Regions from separate parts of the Homo sapiens genome. Here region 2 is linked to region 1. Evidence: promoter capture Hi-C in 16 types of primary human blood cells and fetal thymus (Javierre and others, 2016). All regions are on one chromosome and are shown on one strand. The core of a region is centred on a gene start or on the middle of the fragment in contact, and the rest is flanking DNA. Distances in the headings are between cores, read along the strand shown. Region 1 holds the start of TTLL1 (TTL family tubulin polyglutamylase complex subunit L1). Region 2 has its middle 45 kb from the start of A4GALT.

Region 1 (6,815 bases), core at 1,112-3,611:
TGTACATTTAAAAATGGCTAAGATGGTTAAGTTTTATGTTATACATATTTTACCACTTTTTCTTTTTTTTGTTTTTAGACAGAGTCTCGCTCTGTCGCTAGGCTGGAGTGCAGTGGTGTGATCTCAGCTCACTGCAACCTCTGCCTCCCAGGTTCAAGCGATTCTCCCGCCTCAGCTCCCTGAGTAGCTGGGACTACAGGCGTGTGCCATCATGCCCGGCTAATTTTTGTATTTTTAGTAGAGACGGGTTTCCATCATGTTGGCCAGAATGGTCTCGATCTCTTGACCTCATGATCCGCCCACCTCGGCCTCCCAAAGTGCTAAGATTACAGGCGTGAGCCACTGCGCCCGGCCAATTTACCACTATTTTTTAAAAAGTGGTGATAACACCATTAACTCAGCAGAGTTCTTGTGGGGATTCATTGAGGGGAGCTGTGGCCAGCTTCTTAGGGTAAGGCCAGCCTCATGGGCCTGTGACCTGTACAGAACCATAGGACCCCGTGCTCAGACAAGCCCTGAAGTTAGTTTAATGCTGCTGTCGCCATCTTAAAGTTCTTTTTTTTTTTTTAAGACGGAGTCTCGCCCTGTTGCCCAGGCTGGAGTGCAATAGTGCGATCTCGGCTCACTGTAACCTCTGTCTCCCAGGCTCAAACAATTCTCCTGCCTCAGCCTCCCAAGTAGCTGGGATTACAAGTGCGCACCACCATGCCCGGCAAATTTTTGTATTTTTAGTAAAGACGGGGTTTCACCATGTTGGCCAGGCTGGTCTCAAACTGCTGACCTTAGGTGATCCACCCGCCTCGGCCTCCCAAAGTGCTGGGATTACAGGCGTAAGGCACCATGCCCTGCCTTAAAATTCTTTTTTTGTTGTTGTTTTTTTTAACTTTTTTTCTCTAAGAGACAGAGTCTTGTTCTGTTGGCCAGGCTGTAGTGTAGTGGCGGGATCATAGCTCACTGCAGCCTCAATCTCCTAGGCTCAAGTGATCCACCTCAGCCTCCTGAGTAACTGAGTAGGACTGCTGGCTACGCCCCCATACCCGGCTGATTAAAAATATTTTTTCTTTTTTTTTTAGAAATGGGGTCTTGCTATATTGGCCAGGCTGGTCTGGAACTCCTGACCTCAAGTGATCCTCCCATCTTGGCCTCCCAAAGTACAGGGATTGCAGGCATGAGGCAACATGCTGGAAGGCTACAATGTTTATTGAACACTTTACTATGCCAGGCCCTAACCACGTCTTGCAAGCCTTCACTCATCTCCTGGGTTTAAGGTGAGAACACTGTAGTCGGAAGCCTTGGGACTTCTCAAGGCCTCACAACCAGACAGCAGCTGAAGGGTATGAATTGGCAATTTGGACTCCAGATAAGTGTTGGTTCCACTAGATGGTGCCAAAAGTAAATGATGATGCGCTGAATGTGCTCTGGGCCTGGGAGGCGGTTGTGTGGGAGATTATAGGAAGTGATGTTAGCAAAGCTCCAATCATCACTAAGAAAGCACACCACCACCCCTCCTGAGAGGCAGCAGCATGAATGGTCAGGTGTCCTGGGTTCAAAGCCAGACTCTGTCACTTACAAGTTGCACAAGTTTGCATAACTCTTTAAATTGATGAAATTAAAAATGAATAATTGTATAGAGAATTCGAGGTAACACAGGTCTATAACGAGAATAATAAACGTCTTTTTTTTTTTTTTTTGAGGCGGAGTCTTGTTCTGTCGCCCAGGCTTGAGTGCAGTGGCACGATCTTGGCTCACTGCAACCTCTGTCTCCCGGGTTCAAGCGATTCTCTTGCCTCAGCCTAGCCAGGATGGTCTCGATCTCCTGACCTCGCGACCCACCCGCCTCTGCCTCCCAAAGTGCTGGGATTACAGGCGTGAGCCACCGAGTCTGGCCCAGATAAACACTTTTTAAAAAAAATTATTTTATTTTTATGTTATTATTATTATTATTATTTGAGATGGAGTCTCGCTCTATCGCCCAGGCTGGAGTGCAGTGGCGCAACATCACCATTTCTTCAGATAAGGAAGCCGAGGTAGAAGGGGTAGGAGAGGCTAAACAGCGGATTGAGACCGAACCCAGGATTCGGACCTAATCATCACACCGCTCTACCTTTCTTTTTAGACTTAATCCCGTGCTCCAGACCCTTCTCAATCTCCTTTCTGGGCCCCGAGAGGGTGGACGGCCTGGCATTTCCTAGGATCCAAGCCCTGGGCATAGCGGCCGCCCGAGGTATGGAGCCCAAAGGAGCCCCAGGCAAGTCTGACTCCGGAAATAGTCGCAGCGCCGGCGGTCGCGTCCTGGGTTGCCAGGGCGCCGCCCTGGAAGTAGAGTGCAGCGCGGGGCGGGGCGGGCCGGTGCGCCTGGCAGTCGGCTGCGTACTCCTGCGAGCGCCGGAGAGGGGCTGGAGGCGGGGCGAGGGCGCGGCTCGAGGCATCCCTGCAGGGCGCTCCTCCGAGTCCCTCGGCGCTCTGAGCCCACAGGTGAGGTCCTGTCCCCCAGGCCGCCGCCTCCCGGGCACCGAGGGTGTGGCTGCGCGCGGGCTGGCGAGTGCGCATGGGTGAGAGAGTGTGGGCGCCAGTGTCTACGCGGCTGCGAAAATGCGGTTCAGATGCTGCTTGCCGGATCCGCGTCCTCCAGGAAGCCCGCGCTAACCACCGTGCCTTTCTCCGTCCGCTGAGTTCCTATGACTTACCTCGTGCTGTCCGACTGTTGCAATTGCATCATTATGTTTATTATTTGTTATCCCAGACTTTCATTGTTCCTACACGTTTCCCATTCGTTTGCAATCTGTGTTGTTTCTGTTGGCATCTTTTGCAGGGCGCAATGTACCTGTGGAGAGAACTCAGGGCAGGAGACAAGAGCCTTGTGTCTTCCCTCTAGATGACTGGACCAAGACATTTCCCCTCTCTGATTCCCTATCAGCTAAGAGGGCAGGGCGGGGTAGTCATCCTTTTCCATAGAGTAGCTGGGGCATTAGAGGAGATTAATTCTGGAAGTGAAAGTATCTTATCATTGTTAGCCCTTTTGGCATTTGCAAAGCAGGTTCTTTGCTCAGGAAACGTTTGATGAGCACATTATGGTGCCGGGTTGTGGCGGTACAAAAAGATGGGCCCCGGCCGGGCACGGTGGCTCACGCCTGTAATCCCAGCACTTTGGGAGGCCGAGGCGGGAGGATCACGAGGTCAGGAGATCGAGACCATCCTGGCTAACACGGTGAAACCCCGTCTATACTAAAAATACAAAAAAAAAAAAATTAGCCGGGCATGGTGGCGGGGGCCTGTAGTCCCAGCTACTCGGGAGGCTGAGGCAGGAGAATGGCGTGAACCCGGGAGGCGGAGCTTGCAGTGAGCCGAGATTGCGCCACTGCACTCCAGCCTGGGCGACAGAGCGAGATTCTGTCTCAAAAAAAAAAAAAAAAAAAAAAAAAAAAAAGATGGGCCCTTCTCTGCCCTCAAATTACAGACACTGGTAAGCAGTCACTGTGGAGCATGGTACTGTCACCCAGTGCGGGCGTGGAGATGGACAGTGACAATACCGCTGTGAACGAATGCCCTGCTCAACATGAAGTCATCACTGACATTGTTATTACTTTATTTATTTATTTATTTATTTTTAGACGGAGTCTTGCTTTGTTGCCCAGGCTGGAGTGCGGTCGCTCTCGGCTCACTGCAACCTCTGCCTCCTGGGTTCAAGCGATTCTCCTGCCTCAGCCTCCCATGTAGCTGTGATTACAGGCACGCGCCACCATGCCCCGCTAATTTTTTAAATTTTAGTAGAGATGGGGTTTCGCCATGTTGGCCAGGCTGGTCTCGAGCTCCTGACCTCAGGTGATCCGCCCACCTCGGCCTCCCAAAGTGCTGGGATTACAAGCGTGAGCCACTGTGCCTGGCCATATTCTTGGTTTTTTTTTTTTTTTTTTGAGACCGTCTCACTCTGTCACCCAGGCTGGAGTGTGCAGTGGTGCGATCTTGGCTCACTGCAACCTCTGCCTCCCGGGTTCAAGCAATCCTCCCACCTCAGCCTCCCAGATAGCTTGGATTACAGGCGCCCACCACCACGCCCGGCTGATATTTGTATTTTTAGTAGAGATAGGGTTTCACCATGTTGGCCAGGCTGGTTTTGAATTCCTGACCTCAGGTGATCTACCCACCTTGGCCTCCCAAAGTGTTGGGATTACAGGCGTGAGCCACCGTGCCCTGCTAAGAATCTGTATTTCTTTTTTTTTTTTTTTTTGAGATGGAGTCTCACTCTGTTGCCCGGGCTGGAGTGCAGTGGCGTGATGCCAGCTCACTGCAACCTCCACCTCCCAGGTTCAAGTGATTCTCGTGCATCAGCCTTCTGAGTAGCTGGGATTACAGATGTGCACCACCACGCGCAGCTAATTTTGTATTTTTAGTAGAGACGGGGTTTCACCATGTTAGCCAGGCTGGTCTCGAACTCCCGACCTCAGGTGATCCACCTGTCTTGGCCTCCCAAAGAATCTGTATTTCTAACAAGCTCCAGGTGCTGCTCACATGTGGGCCATGCTTTGAGTAGCACTGGACTAAATGATTGCTTACAACCCAAGTGCCATGGAGAAAATAAAGTGACAATGTGGTGGAGTCAGGAGGATTGAGATTGAGTGGTTGGGGAAAGCCACTCTGAGCAGTTGACTTTTGAGAAGGGACAGATCTGGAGGACGAGCAAAGGCTTAAGACAAAATGCAGCCTGTGGGGTGTCAGGAGCTGAAAGAAGGCCAGGGGCTAAAGAGGGTTGGTGAGAGACAAGGCCTAAGAGGTGATGGTCCAGATCTGCAGGGCTGGCCTCGTAGGCCATGGAGGACCACTAGCTTCATTCTGAATGCAGTATGAAGCTACTGTGGGGTAGTGAGCAGGGTGACATGGTTAGTGTTGTGTGTGTCACACATTGGTCCGCTGCTGGGTGGGAAATGGGTTGTAGTGGAGTGAGAAGAGTAGCAGGGGACAGAGTGGGGCCTGCTGCAGTTGCCCAGGAGAGAGGGGACATTATGGGAGTGGAGGATGGATTTGGAATCTTCTGGAGTGGAGCTGACCTGATTTGCTGCTGGATCAAATTAACCATCCCTTCCTTCCCCGGCCACAGTTGAACTGTGATGTGTTGTTGAAGCCCTTTGCTGCAGGCAGGCCTTACAGCTTGTTAAATGTGTCTCCTGTGCTCCTCGCCCCCATCTGGGCTCTCAGTTTAATGTCTGTCTGTTACAGGCCTGGCACTGAGTGGCTGTCAGGGCTGTGTGGGTGGATGAGAAGTTAGACCACCAGTGGCCCTGATATCCAGGGTGTTCATGGGAAACCTTCTCTTTGAGCTCATGACGATCCTACCCAGTTGCCCCAGGAGCGAGACCCAGGTTGTCTTCTGAAAATAACCAGCAGCTCTCTGGTTTCAGGATGGCTTTCTGTGGTTGACACACTTCAGGTGGTGACAGCCCCAACTCCAATTGTGAGCTGCATTCAACATAAAAGGTCAATATGTCACTCTGTTTTTCCTGGTTAGGTTTTTATGATGCTCAGTTTAGAAAGTGACGTAAGATTCAGATGCATCAATTCACGTGAACCAGGAGAGATAATAACACGTTACTCAGTACCCTTAACCCCACTTCCGTTTTCTGTTTTAGGAGGAAGCAACAATAAAACAATCTGATATCAGGTATTTATTTACTTTTCTAAGGAAAACGGCTTAGTATTGCTTAGGGTTGGGAAGGAATCACCCATTCTTCCACACTGTGGGGCGTGGCCCGGTGGATCACTTGTCTACACACGATTTTGGAGCCCCACGCTAGGCCTGGCTGGCTGCGTGCCCGACATGAGAACAGACACGAGTCAGCCCACTCCTGAGCCAGCCCGCTCCTGAGCCAGCCCACTCTGCTGCCCCGCAGGAGGTTGCTATCTAATGTGGGAGGCACATGTGAAATAACAGTTGCCATCTGGTGTGGGAGGGAAGCGTGTAGGCTGTCCACAGGCTGCACACTCTCCTCTTCTTTTTATTCTCTGGCCCCCATTTTCCTCATCTGTAAAATGCGGAGAATTCCTGCTGTATTAGTCTGTTCTCATGCTGCTAATAAAGACATACCCAAAACTGGGTAATTTATAAAAGGAAGAGGTTTAATTGACTCAGTCACAATCATGGCGGAAGATGAAGGAAGAGCAAAGGCACATTATACATGGTGGCAGGCAAGAGAGCTTGTGCAGGGGAACTCGCATTTATAAAACCATCAGATCTCACAAGATTTATTCACTACCACGAGAACAGTACGGGGGAACCACTCCCATGATTCGTTTATCTCCACCTTGCCCTGCCCTTGACTCGTGGGGATTATTACAAGTCAAGTTGAGATTGGGATACAGACAAATCATATCATCTGCCTTTGGGCATCACATGAGACGATAATATACACAGTGGAGAAGAATATTCATAAACTACCCCACCCAGTACCTGACACATGCTAGAGCTTAATAAGTGGTAGCTTTGCCAGGCGCGGTGGCTCACACCTGTAATCCCAGCACTTTGGGAGGCCGAGGCAGGCGGATCACGAGGTCAGGAGATGGAGACCATCCTGGCTGACACAGTGAAACCTCGTCTCTATTAAAAATACAAAAAATTAGCCGGGCATGGTGGCATGCGCCTGTAGTCCCAGCTACTCGGGAGGCTGAGGCAGGAGAATCGCTTGAATCACTTGAACCTGGAAAGTGGAGGTTACAGTGAGCTGAGATCGCGCCACTGCACTCCAGCCTGGGCGACAGAGCAAGATGCCATCTCAAAAAAAAAAAAAAAAAAAAAAAGGTGGCAGCTTTTGTTCTTAATGATG
Region 2 (6,401 bases), core at 78-2,577, 320 kb after region 1:
AGGTGAAGCCCTGAACCCTTCAGAATGGCCCAAGGGGCGCCTGTCCACCCTGCTGCCCCCCACCCTCTGCCCCTCAAGGCCTGGGGCATCCAGGCTCTATGACCTTTCCAAGGGTTTGCTGGAAGGAGCCTGGGGTTGGGAGCCGCTTGTGGAGGCGAACAGGCTCGTGGGCCATGACAGTCCCCTCGCTTCCTCCCTCACACAGAGGAGAGCAGCATCCACCGGGTCACCTGTGGGAGAGTTGGAGCCACTGGAAACGCGGGGCTCAGGGTGCCCGGCACACAGTGGGCCTGCAGGTGGGCACGGTCGGCCCCTCACAGAGTAAGCGGCTGAGGCACTGCCTGTGCTTGCGAGGTGCTCAAGTCACACCCCAGTAAACGGGGAGGGAGCTGCCTCCACCCCACCACCCACCCACCCACCCTCATCCATTCAGGTTCTCACACACACGCCCGTCACCGTCAGCCAGCGCCCCAGCCGGTCCCATGGCCCTCCCAGTTCCGTGAACGGCGCCACCTCTCAGGCCTCCATCCTGCCACTGGCCAGGTCACTCAGACTGTGGAGGGGAGGGTCTGACAGGCCCAAGCCCGACCCTGTGCCCCTCTCTGGCTGCAGCCCCGCATGCCTGAGGGTGGCTGGAGGGGGCCCAGTGCCTGCTGGGTGGGTGTCCCTTCCGGAGGCTCTGCAAGTGAGTTGCCTTCTGAGTCCGCGCAGGTGGTTGGTGGGATCTGGTTTCTGTGGCTATAGGACTGAAGTCCCTGTTCCCTGGCTGGCTGTCAGCCAGGGCCCAGCCTTAGCAAGTAGAGGCCTGTCTCTGTCCTTGCCCGTGGGCCCCCGTCTCGGAGCCGGCAGCGGCATGTCCAGTCCTCACACTTGGAAACTCTCTGGCTTCCCATTCGGCCTGGTCTCTCTTCTGCTTCCAGCCAGAGAAAGTCCTTTTCTGCTCTTACAGCTCATGGGACTGGACCAGACCCACTATCCCAGCCATGTCTAGGATAATTTCCCTCCCTATTTTAAGGTTCGTAACCTTAATTACACCTGCAAATTTCCTTTTGTCTTGTAACAACATCTTCCCAGCTACCAGGGATCAGGACTGGGACATCTTTGGGGGCCACTTCGCCTTCCACCAGACCTGGTTGGCCCCCTCAGCTGCCCTCTGTACGGCCTTGTAACATCCTTTTCCAAAGTCCAAGCAACTCAAGAGAAAAGACCCAAAGATAGTGACATCAGCAGTTCGCCCAGGAAAACCGTCCAGCTGGTCCTCTTATGTGAGTCCCACATGGATGAATCCTGCACGTGGCACAGGGTGTCTAAGCCACTGTTTGCTGCCCCTTTCTTAAATAGAAGTAGATGGCTGGGCACAGTAGCTCATGCCTATGATCCCAGCACTTTGGGAGGCTGAGGTGGGCAGATCACTTGAGGTCAGGAGTTCAAGACCAGCCTGGCCAACATGGTGAAACCCTGTCTCCACTAAAAATGTGAAAAAATTAGCTAGGCGTGGTGGTGCACCCCTGTAGTCCCAGCTATTCAGGAGGCTGAGGCAGGAGAATTGCTTGAACCTGGGAGGTGGAGGTTGCAGTGAGCCGAGATCTCACCACTGCACTCTAGCCTGGGTGACAGCAAGACTCTGTCTCAAAATAAATAAATAAATTAATTAATTAAAAAGAAGGCCATGGAGGGAAACATGTTCCCGAGATCTCTTGGAACTGTGCCGTGGGCAAAAAAAAAATAATTAAAAAAAAAAAAAAAAAAAAAAAATATATATATATATATATATATATATATATATATTTTTTTTTTTTGAGACAGAGTCTCTCTCTGTCTCCCAGGCTGGAGTGCAATGGCACGATCTCGGCTCACCGCAACCTCTGCCTCCTGGGTTCAAGCGATTCTCCTGTCTCAGCCTCCTGAGTAGCTGGAATTACAGGCGTCTACCACCACAACCGGCTAATTTTTGTATTTTTAGTAGAGACGGGGTTTCTCCATGTTGGCCAGGCTGGTCTCGAACTCCTGACCTCAGGTGATCCGCCCGCCTCGGCCTCCCAAAGTGCTGGAATTGCAGGCATGGGCTACCGCACCCCGTCCCCATTATATATATTTAAAAAAAAAAGAAGTCTTGGAGGGTGGGCATGAGCAAAACGAGGGGCAGCCACATAGAGGAAGATGGGGTCCAGGCAGCAGGAGCCAACTGATAGGAGAGAGTGGGTGCCAGATGACAGAGGCCAGGCACCAGGCCACAGGGGATGGTCAGGAGGCTCTGGGAGGAAACTGTTCCAATGTGTCTGAACACGTGGAGAGGCGGCTTACATAGCGGAAGGAGAGTGCAGAGGTGAAGTCACAGCCCCAGGAAGAAACTGGGGCACAAGTGGCCTGGGAACCAGATGCACTCCAGGGAAAATGAGGAACCCCAGCCTGCTGCACGGCTCAGCGTGAGCTGCACCCGCATAGTAACGTAGACACTGAATGTCTGTCTCACCAAAATTATGTTGGGGGTGGGGACAGTTGGGGGGTTCTATGTGTGAGAGGGAATTAAATCCTTCACTTCCAGGGTGGAGAATCAGGAGACCCTGTGCAACACTGAGAACCTGAGAAGTGTCCAGCTAAGCACAGTATAATTATTTTGGGTAGAGATGGGGTCTTGCTGTGTTGCCCACAGTGGTCTCCAACTCCTGGGCTCAACAGATCCTCCCGCCTCAGCCCCCTAAAGTACTGGGATGATAGACATGAGCCCCCATGCCCGGCCTAAGTACATTATTTTTTATTTATTTTTATTTATTTATTTATTTTTGAGATAGAGTCTTGCTCTGTCACCCAGGCTGGAGTGCAGTGGCTCGATCTCAGCCCACTGCAAACTCTGCATCCTGGGTTCAAGCTATTCTCATGCCTCAGCCTCCCAAGTTGCTGGGATTACAGGTGTGTGCCACCATGCCCAGCTAATTTTTGTATTTTTGGTAGAGAGGGGGTTTCACCACGTTGGCCAGGCTGGTCTCGAACTCCTGACCACCACGCCTGGCATTTTTTATTTATTTTTTGAGACGGAGTCTCACTCTGTTGCCCAGGCTGGAGTGCAGTGGCGCCATCTCAGCTCACTGCAACCTCTGCCTCCCTGGCTCAAGTGATACTCCCACCTCAGCCTCCCAAGTAGCTGGGATTACAAGCATTCCCCCCTGTGTCTGGCTAATTTTTGTATTTTTAGTAGAGACGGGGTTTCACCATGTTGGCCAGGCTGGTCTCGAACTCCTGACCTCAAGTGATCCACGCACCTCGGTCTCCCAAAGTGCTGGGATGACAGGTGTGAGTCACCATGTCTGGCCTCCTAAGCACATTATTTAAGCATAAAAAGGCAGACATGAAAAGACTGACCTGAAACATAAATGCTGGGAAAATAAACACAAGGGCATGGGAGCCTTGTGGACGCACAATGGGCAGAGAGGGGCGGGGACTGTTTTTATAACAGATGCATAAACCACTTGCATCCTCAAGTCACACACATGGTTGACAGAATGGGGTGGGAGGAGACCCCACACGAGTCCCACTGGGAGGGGCTGGCCTTGTAGGGGACACAGGGAAGGATCCCTGAGCTCCACCTGGGGTGTGGGTAGGGTGAGGGAGCCCCTCCCTCCAGGGGGAAGGGAGGAAATTCCACCACAGGGATGCAGGAGCCAGAGAACAGCAAGCCCACTCCTGGTACAGTGGGAACTCAGGGGTGGAGAGGAGGGACGGCAGTGGGGCCGGTGCTGCCTCTCTGCTGGCTGGGACGCCCCATGCCCAGCAGTCGGTCCCACGGATACGCCACCTTCCGCGGCACACTGCTTCAAGACTCTGGATCATTGCTTGTCTTCCTGCGGACGACAGGAAGAAAGATGAAGGCATGAGAGAGATGGCACTTTATAAAGGGTCAGAGAAGGGCCTCTCTGATGAGGCAACATTGGAGCAGAGACTCAGGACCTGAGGCACGTGGATAACGGGGCTCCCAGCTATGAAGGGGCCAGCTCGCGGCCACACAAGGATGACCTCCTTGCCCACCCAGGCTCTGCCTTGACCAATCCAGAAGCCATGCGGCCTCTGTGCGACTCCCTGCTCTTCTCCCAGGCCGGGGGCTGGGGCATGGGCTCGGGCCAGGGGCCGCTGTTTCTTGGAGTCTCCAACCAGAACTGAGCTCTTCAGGGGACCTGGATGACGCACTGTTTGGGTGGTTGTGTTTGGGGTGTGATGCGGCCACCCTGGAAAGCCCCAGCCTGTCAGCTCTGATCCGCGTCCCTGGGGTTCACCTCCCACCTCCGTGTCAGAACCTCTTCCTGCCCTTTCCTGTGGACTGGGGGGGATCTGAGTGCCTCCCTCCATGTTTCATGAACCGAAACTGAAGCTGGAGAAGATAGGGCTTATCTGGGGTCAAAAGGAGCCCAGGTCCCCAGCTTTTGTGGGGAAACTTGTTCTGGGGGCTGAGTCAGCCTGGCCAGGTTATATGGGCGTCGGGGATGAAGTGCAGGAGAGGAGTTTGGGGTCATCCCATGAGTGATCAGAGGCCCCTGGGGGCTTGGGTGGGAGCATCAGAGAGTGGGAGGTGCCAGAGCCGTTCTCTGCCTTCAGAAGGAAGATGAGTGAGAAGGTGCAAGGGGAAGAGGAGACTGAACAGAGAAAGAAATTCAAGAGGAGAGCTCTGGAGAGAGAGGCAGGTGCCGATGGAGAAGCTGGCCCATGGGGCGGTGGGTCGGTGGGTGGAACACGGTCCTCCCCACATCTGTCCACAAAACCTTCCAAAAAGTCCCATCTCTTTGCAGAGTAGGTAATAAGAGCAGCTCCCAGGCACCCCTATGTATTTACCAAGCTTTACAGAGCACCAGCCATCACTGGTCCAGTCCATCCTCACAGCTGCTCTGTGGGACAGGTACATTATTCCCTGCTTTCATAAATGGGGAAACCGAGGTACAGGGAAGTGCCTAAGGTCAAGCACTGGAAGGTGGCGGAGCTGGGAGCAGGCAGAGTGACTCGGGGCCCACTCCCACCTCCCCACCCGCCCTGTGTCTCTGGGGTGTAGGGAGTGAGTCCTGCAGCCAGGTGTGGGGGTGGGGGACGGGTTCCACACCAGTGAGGCTGGCCGGGCCCGGGTCAGAGGGTTGATGGGGTTTTTCAGCTCATGGGCAGTACCCAACTGCATCGTGGATTGAATCAGGCCCTGGGCTCTGAACCAACGCAAACTCTTCCAGTGACTGCCAATGAGGTGGCAAGGGAGCCCACGTGACCCTGAGGGCCTAGCACGCTCTTCATTGCCCAGGGAAGCCAGCCCCAGCCTGCAGGGCCACCTCCAGATGAGACACCGCTGGAGACGATGGGTGGCATTCTCAGGGCCTCTTTGTGGAGAAAAATAGGAAACTATGATTATAAAATTAGGCATAAAAGTGAATATTAAGAGTAAATAGGGCCAGGCACGGAGGCTCACGCCTGTAATCCCAGCACTTTGGGAGGCCGAGACGGGCAGATCACCCGAGGTTGGGAGTATGAGACCAGACTGGACAACATGGCGAAACCCTCTCTCTACTAAAAATACAAAAATTAGCCGGGTGCGGTGGCAGGCGCCTGTAATCCCAGCTACTCAGGAGGCAGGAGAATCACTTGAACCCAGGAGGCAGAGGTTGCAGTGAGCCAAGATCGTACCACTGCACTCTAGCCTGGGTGACAGAGTGAGACTCCATCTCAAAAAAAAAGAAAAAAAAGAGAAAAGTTAATTGGCCACGCACAGTGGCTCACAACTGTAATCCCAGCACTTTGGGAATCTGAGGTGGGAGGATCACTTGAGCCCAGGAGCTCAAGACCAGCCTGGGCCACAGTATGAGACCCTATCTCTAGTTTTAAAAAAGTAAATAAATCACAACTGCAAAAAATGTAAAAAGCCAATAAGCAGCATAAGCATAATAAGATCCAATAAATTAACATAATATTTCTCTTAGAGAACTGCCTGATGCACCCCTGAAGTACGTTGCGTTTGTGTTTTTTGAGACAGAGTCTCGGTCTGTCACCAGGCTGGAGTACAGTGGTGTCATCTCGGCTCACTGCAACCTCCGCCTCCCAGGTTCAAGCAATTCTCCTGCCTCAGCCTCCCAAGTACGTAGCCGCCACCACGCCCAGCTAATTTTTGTATTTTTAGTAGAGACGGGATTTCACCGTGTTGGCCGGGCTGGTCTCGAACTCCTGACCTCAGGCGATCCACCCACCTCGGCCTCCCAAAGTGCTGTGATTACAGGTGTGAGCCACTGTGCCCAGTCAGTATTTTGTACTTTACGTTTCTCCCCTAAATACTCTCTGATCATCTTTTGAAAAGACAACAAGTTTTGTAATATCATTTTCCACTGAGAGAATAGAACAATAATTCAGCCTTTCCACTAGCGTGGTTGACTAAAAATTAT

What was found. Contacts are between HindIII fragments. The CHiCAGO score rates a contact against its expected background, and 5 or more counts as called.
Region 2: a fragment that was not itself captured here is called in contact with the fragment with the promoter of TTLL1 in region 1 in 1 of 17 cell types (neutrophils); the score reaches 5.5 in neutrophils.

Annotation. Positions count from the first base shown.
Region 1 is chr22:43,084,937-43,091,751 of GRCh38, reverse strand. It overlaps TTLL1 (TTL family tubulin polyglutamylase complex subunit L1), which reads left to right and starts at 2,361. Exons shown (of 11, transcript NM_012263.5): 1 at 2,361-2,475. RefSeq lists silencers at 1,387-1,446, 2,195-2,489, 2,254-2,593 and an enhancer at 2,195-2,489. The HindIII fragment of the contact is 9,359 bases long and covers 1-6,815 here.
Region 2 is chr22:42,762,960-42,769,360 of GRCh38, reverse strand. No RefSeq gene overlaps it. Among named protein-coding and RNA genes, the nearest start is that of A4GALT, 45 kb to the right of the region's middle. The HindIII fragment of the contact is 7,000 bases long and covers 1-4,827 here.